Regions from separate parts of the Homo sapiens genome. Here region 1 is linked to region 2. Evidence: promoter capture Hi-C in human tissues and cell types (Jung and others, 2019). All regions are on one chromosome and are shown on one strand. The core of a region is centred on a gene start or on the middle of the fragment in contact, and the rest is flanking DNA. Distances in the headings are between cores, read along the strand shown. Region 1 has its middle 7.3 kb from the start of ACO1. Region 2 holds the start of SMU1 (SMU1 DNA replication regulator and spliceosomal factor).

Region 1 (3,156 bases), core at 430-2,929, 700 kb after region 2:
TTTGTTTAGATTCAAGCATACTTTTACCATTTTTGTTGACTGCTTCTTAGTAGTTCCTCTCCTCCCTTCTCCCATACTTGGTGGGAGGAAACGACAACAGACGACACAGAAAGATACATTTGTCTGTTACAAGTCCATCCTTGAAAGTACCATGCAGGCTAACTAAACCAATGATGGTGAGCTACTGCCCTCTGTTGATGAGTATGTGGCAAACACATTGCTAGCCGTAAAAAGCTGAGAGGATGGTTAGCATTAGGAGAATCAATAATTGGGTGACAGAGAGTGAGACCTTGTCTCAAGAAAAGACAGAATAAGTATTAAGAAGAAAACATTTTCTACTGGTGATAAATATTCTCAGGCTTCATTTGTTGTGAAATGTCTTTATTTTACTGTCTTTATTTTTTATTTATTTATTTTTGAGACGAGTCTCGCTCTGTTGCCCAGGCAAAAGAGTGCAATCTGGGCTAACTGCAACCTCTGCCTCTGGGTTCAAGTGATTCTCGTGCCTCAGCCTCCCGAGTAGCTGGGACCATCGGCGCCCACCACCATGCCCAACTAATTTTTGTATTTTTAGTGGAGACGGGGTTTCACCGTGTTGGCCAGGCTGTCTCGAACTCCTGACCTCAGGTGATCCACCTGCCTCGGCCTCCCAAAGTGCTAGGGCCCTCACTCTGTCACCCAGGCTGTAAGGCAGTGGCACGAACACAGTCCATTGCCACCTTGACTTCCCAGGGTCAGGCAATCCTTCCACCTCAGCCTCCTGAATAGCTGGGACTACAGGCATGCACTACCATGCCTGAATAATTTTTAATTTTTTTTATAGAGACAGGGTCTTACTATATTGTCCAGGCTGGTCTGGAACTCCTGAGCTCAAGCGATCCTCCGGCCTCAGCCTCCTAGAGTGCTGGGATTATAGGCATGAGCCACCGTGCCCAGCCTACTGTCTTTGTTGAATAACATTTTTTCTGGATATTAAATATTGGATTGGCAGTTATTTTTTTCCAGCATTTAAAAGTATCAGTCCAGGCCAGTCACGGTGGCTCATGTGTATAATCCCAGCACTTTGGGAAGCTGAGGTGGGAAGATCACTTGAGCCCAGGAGTTCCAGGCAAGCCTGGGCAACATGGTGAGACTCTATCTCTAAAAATTTTTTTTAAAAAATTAGCCAGGCGTGGTGGGATGTGCACAGTCTCAGCTACTCAGGAGGCTGAGGTGAGAGAATCTCTTGAACCTAGAAGATCGAGGCTGCAGTGATCCCTGTTCTTGCTTGCCACTTGCACTCCGCCTGAGTGACAGAATGAGACTCTACCTGAAAAAAACAACAACAAAAAAATCAAGCCATGTCTTCTGGCTTTGCTAGCTTTTGTTGGAAAGTTCATTGTCAGTCTAAATCTTCCTGTTCTCAAAGTAATGTTTCTTTTCTCTGGCTACTTTTACAATCTTCTATTGTCTTTTGTTTTCACCAGTTTGAGTTTTCTATACTTTTATTCTTTTCTGAGATTCATAGGACTTTCTGAATCTATAGCTTAATGTATTTCAGCATTGTTGCAAAAAAATTAATTATTGTCTTTTAAATGTTGCTTCTGTCCTATTCTCTGTCTCTTTTCCTTTTGGAATTATAATTTCACATATGTTAGACTGTCTTACTATAACCTTTATGTCTCCTATGTTTTCCATTCTTTAGTCTCTGTCATTCATTCTGGGTATTTCTTGTTGACATGTCTTTTTGTTACTATAAAAGCAGTGGATTCTCCAATCTCACTTTTCCTCATCTACAAAGCAGATTCACTATGCTAAGCATTCCATCTGGGCCCCTGCCTATTTCGTCTGTGGGATTTAGTGGCAAGGGGAACTAATGCAATCTTATTTTCATGCTACTTGTTACGCATGTAGTGAAGTACTTTATCTCTGACCCAAGAGCCTCATGTCTTCTGCCAACATCCATGAAGCAATAACAGGCTAAGTTACTAGCTTGTATATAGGGTAAAATCCCAGACCCTGACAGTTTGGGTGACAAGATAGGGTGCTGGCTGAGGTGTGCCTTTCTGGAAGACCCCATGGGCTGTGTTAGTAGGACCCAGTAGCAAATGCCCTCACCAAAGTGGGGAGCAAGGGGGAAAGTACATTTCTCTCACTCTCCTGCCTGTTAATGAATGTTTACAGGCTAAGCAAGAGGCAAGGTTGAAACAATCTTCCCAAATGGTACTTTGATTGTGCTCACTCTCCTCAGGAACAGGAAGAAGGGACTTTATATGACAATTAGGCCGCAAAAGTGGGGAAGCCAAAAGTGGCTGTATCTGATTGGTCAAGGAGTCCCCCCAAAGCTTAAATAATGATGTCATCTGTAAGTAGATACAGCTTCAGGTGGACCAAAGCCAGATGTTCACTTGAATGAGCCCAACCTGCTGGTAGCTGCTTGAAATGGAAAGCTGATGCAAACTGGCTTACTGGCCTGAAACTGCTCTTTCCCTCTGCACTTCCTGACCCTTCCTTTCCCCTGTACCCCAGCCTCAACTGCTTTAAGGAAAATGCTGAGTATGCGGGGGAACTGAAAGGAGGGGAGGAACTCAAATATTTTTAGCTCTGTTGAATATAGGTGCCCAAGTCATAATCCTTCCCAGTCTCATGAATGGAGAGGGTGCTGGGCACAAGGATATCTAAAGGTACTGAGGATTGTAGGGTGCAAGGGAATTTACCCTGAGCCTGGTTGGGAGAGACAAAGGATAAGAAAAGCCATCTTCTCCCCTCATCTGCATCCCCCTTCCAGCAGCTATTGTTACAGTCCTGTTATGCCTGTTAGACTTCTTGGTCCATATTTCTATAGGGCAGTGTTTTTCAACCAGGGTCATTTTGTCCTCTCCTCCCACCCAGGGGACATGTGACAATGTCTGGAGACTTTTTTTTTTTTTTTTTTTGAGACAGAGTTTCATTCTTGTCGCCCAGGCTGGAGTGCAATGGCACGATCTTGGCACACTGCAACCTCCACCTCCTGGGTTCAAGTGATTCTCCTGCCTCAGCCTCCCAAGTAGCTGGGATTATAGGCACCAGCCACCATGCCCAGCTAATTTTTGTTATATAATTATTATTATTTTTTTAGTAGAGATGGGGTTTCTCCATGTCGGCCAGGCTGTTCTCGAACTCCTGACCTCAGGTAAT
Region 2 (3,223 bases), core at 362-2,861:
GTTCACTGATATCTCTACATTTCATTTGTCACTACAAATGTAATAATGTGTTTGACCTAAAGTCCCGTGACAGGGCGTGGTGGCTCATGCCAGTAATCCCAGCACTTTGGGTGGCTGAGGTGGGAGGATTGCTTGAGCTGGAGGGGTCGAGGCTGCAGTGTGCCACGATCGAGACACTGCACTCCAGCATGGGCAACAAAGCGAGTCCTTGATTCAAAAAAACGCAAAACCAACCAACCAACCAAAATCCTCAATTAACTCTTCCTATAAATTTTGGCTAGTGTTATGTTGGTTTTGAATGTATTAATATCCCATCAGGTATTGCATATTCAGCCTCATCTTAAATCTAATCAACTAATTACATCAAACGAAAGCAACATTGGCTGGGCGCAGTGACTCACGCCTGTAATCCCAGCACTTTGGGAGACCGAGGCGGGCGGATCACGAGGTCAGGAGTTCGAGAACAGCCTGACCAACATAGTGAAATCCCATCTCTACTAAAAATACAAAAAATTAGCCTGGCGTGATGGCAAGAAACCTGTAATCCCAGCTACTCCGGAGGCTGAGGCAAGAGAATCTCCTGAACCCGGGAGGCAGAGTTTGCAGTGAGCCGAGATCGCGCCATTGTGCTCTTCAGCCCGGGCGACAGTGCGAGATTCCGTCTCAAAAAAAAAGCAATCTTTCCAAACCAGTGCTCTTTCTTTTCTTTCTTTTCTTTTCTTTCTTTTCTTCTTTCTTTTCTTTGCTTTTCTTACTACAATCTTATCACCACTACTTTTCTTTTCTTCTTTTGAGACGGAATTTTGCTCTCCTTGCCCAGGCTGGAGTGCAATGGTGTGATCTCGGCTCACCGCATCCACCTCCAGAGGTGAAACGATTCTCCTGCCACAGACTCCCGAGTAGCTGAGATTACAGGCGCCCCCGCCACCACGCCCGGCTAATTTTTTGTATTTTTAGTAGAGACGGGGCTTCACCATGTTGCCCAGGCTGGTCTCGAACTCGCGCGCTGGGAGTACAGGCGCGAGCCACCGCGCTCCGCCCCAGCGCTTTTCTTTTTCAGTACATTTGTGAGCTGTATGGCGCCCGGTGCTTTTTTTCTTTTTCTTTTCTATCTTTCTTTTTTTTTTTTTTTTTTTTTTGAGACGGAGTTGCGCTCTTGTTTTCCATGCTGGGGTGCAATGGCGCGATCTCGGCTCACCGCAACCTCCGCCTCCTGGGTTCAAGCGATTCTCCTGCCTCAGGCTCCCGAGTAGGGATTACAGGCATGCGCCACTACGCCCGGCTAATTTTGTATTTTTAGTAGAGACGGGGGTTTCTCCATGTTGGTCAGGCTGGTCTCGAACTCACGACCTCAGGTGATCGCCCGCCTCGGCCTTCCAAAGTGTTGGGATTACAAGCGTGAGCCACCGCACCCGGCTCCGGCCTGCTTTTAAACAGTCTTCCTCCTGATGCGTATTTCTCTGGGGCAGGGGCATAAACTCCGCCCTCTGACAGCCCCTGAGGGCTCCGCCCCTACGCGAACCTCGCCCCTACTCTTCGTTCACTCTATCTCCAGAGCGGGAGCCAGACGCCGACCCAAGCGGAAGTGACGTTAGGTGTCCGCCGGAGGTGTCGTTGGTGTGTTGCGCGACTGGCCTTGAGGGAGAGCTGGGGCCTGCTCCCGGAGAGATACGGCTATGTCGATCGAAATCGAATCTTCGGAGTGAGTCCTGCGGTGGGGATGTTCGCGCCTTGCCGGGGGCCTGGAGGTTAAGGGTGTGGGGCGGAGGGTACTCGGGAGAAGGCATCCGAGAGGCCAGGGAGTGGAGGGCCATTTCCTTGCCCCCAAAGAAGCATCTTGGATCTCGCTACCTCGGAGGTGGGCCCACAGGAAAGTAGCAGCTCTCAGACGTGAAGCCCAAAACCTCGAGGGAGGTGGCACGGGTGGGGAAAACACACCTTGCAGACCTAAGTTCTGTCCTTGGCCGACTGCTGGCGCGCTGTGATTGACCAAATTAAGGATCCACTCTGGACTCCAGTCTAATTATCTGCGCAAGGGGATAGGTCTCTTTAAGCCTTGCTTCTCTCCCTGTCCAGCTTATGCAATGTGATTCGTTGTCTCTGCTTATACGGCCCCTTTGCTTTTCTCTGCCTAGCGTTTATCACTCAGTATTGTCACTGTTTGATAACCTCACCCCAAACTAGCCTTTGTCGGTGCCTAGGAGCTCCTTTTCCTTGTGGTCTCAGTGTCTAGCATACCTTAGAGGAAGAGTTAATTGCTTTTGGAATGAATGAACAACTAGCTTTTGGAATGAATGAACAACTATCAGGCCCGATCTGGCACGGAATTTTGGGTTGTCTGGGGAGAGACAGACTGGAGACTGGGCTAGAAAGAAAAATTTTCAAGGAATAGGGGATGAGAATTAGTGACTAAAGAAGACCTTAGTGTGCTTTTCCAGAACTCCATCCTCCACCTGTCCTTGCCAACACTTAATAATAATTAAATTAACAGACATAAAAATTGTGTCTGAGTGTAAGGGAGGGAGAGGACCTTTTTTGGAGACTTTTCATAGGAGGAAGGGAGGTTTATGCATTCAGCAAATACTGAAATGATGTTAACCTACTTGTCCAAGGTCACATAACTTTGATTCAAATCCCAGACTATCTTCAAAGCTTCTAGCTCTTTATGTATTCATTTCTGTTTGAAGGTAGGGAATTTGATTTTGGCTATGTCAAATGTGAGCTGTTTGAGGAGAGAGATGACTTATTTTGGGAGTGTAAAATGGAAGTCAACGGACATGTGCTAAGGAAGATAGTATCATAGCAGAATAACAGGGGTCTAAGTCTGGATACCTGCATACCTCATAAAGGGGCCATGAGAGAAAAAGACTACTGCAGGTAGCAGCAATCAGTTCCCTTTTTTTTTTTTGAGACGGAGTCTCACTCTGTCACCCAGGCTGGAATGCAGTGGCGCGATCTCCGCTCACTGCAAGCACCGCCTCCCACGTTCACGCCATTCTCCTGCCTCAGCCTCCCGAGTAGCTGGGACTACAGGCGCCCACCACCATGCCCGGCTAATTTTTTTGTATTTTTAGTAGAGACGGGGTTTCACCGTGTTAGCCAGGATGGTCTCGATCTCCTGACCTTGTGATCTGCCCGCCTCGGCCTTCCAAAGTGGTGAGATTACAGGCGTGAGCCACCGCGGCCGGCCTATAGTTGTTTTTAAGAAGAGGGGCCAGGTGCG

The links. Contacts are between HindIII fragments. The study calls those that stand out against the background at their distance.
Region 1: a fragment that was not itself captured here is called in contact with the fragment with the promoter of SMU1 in region 2 in 1 of the 25 tissues and cell types used here (dorsolateral prefrontal cortex).

The regions. Positions count from the first base shown.
Region 1 is chr9:32,375,730-32,378,885 of GRCh38, reverse strand. No RefSeq gene overlaps it. Among named protein-coding and RNA genes, the nearest start is that of ACO1, 7.3 kb to the left of the region's middle. The HindIII fragment of the contact is 4,774 bases long and covers 1-3,156 here.
Region 2 is chr9:33,075,062-33,078,284 of GRCh38, reverse strand. It overlaps SMU1 (SMU1 DNA replication regulator and spliceosomal factor), which reads left to right and starts at 1,611. Exons shown (of 12, transcript NM_018225.3): 1 at 1,611-1,702. The coding sequence starts at 1,677. RefSeq lists enhancers at 1,230-1,429, 1,600-1,749. The HindIII fragment of the contact is 9,509 bases long and covers 1-3,223 here.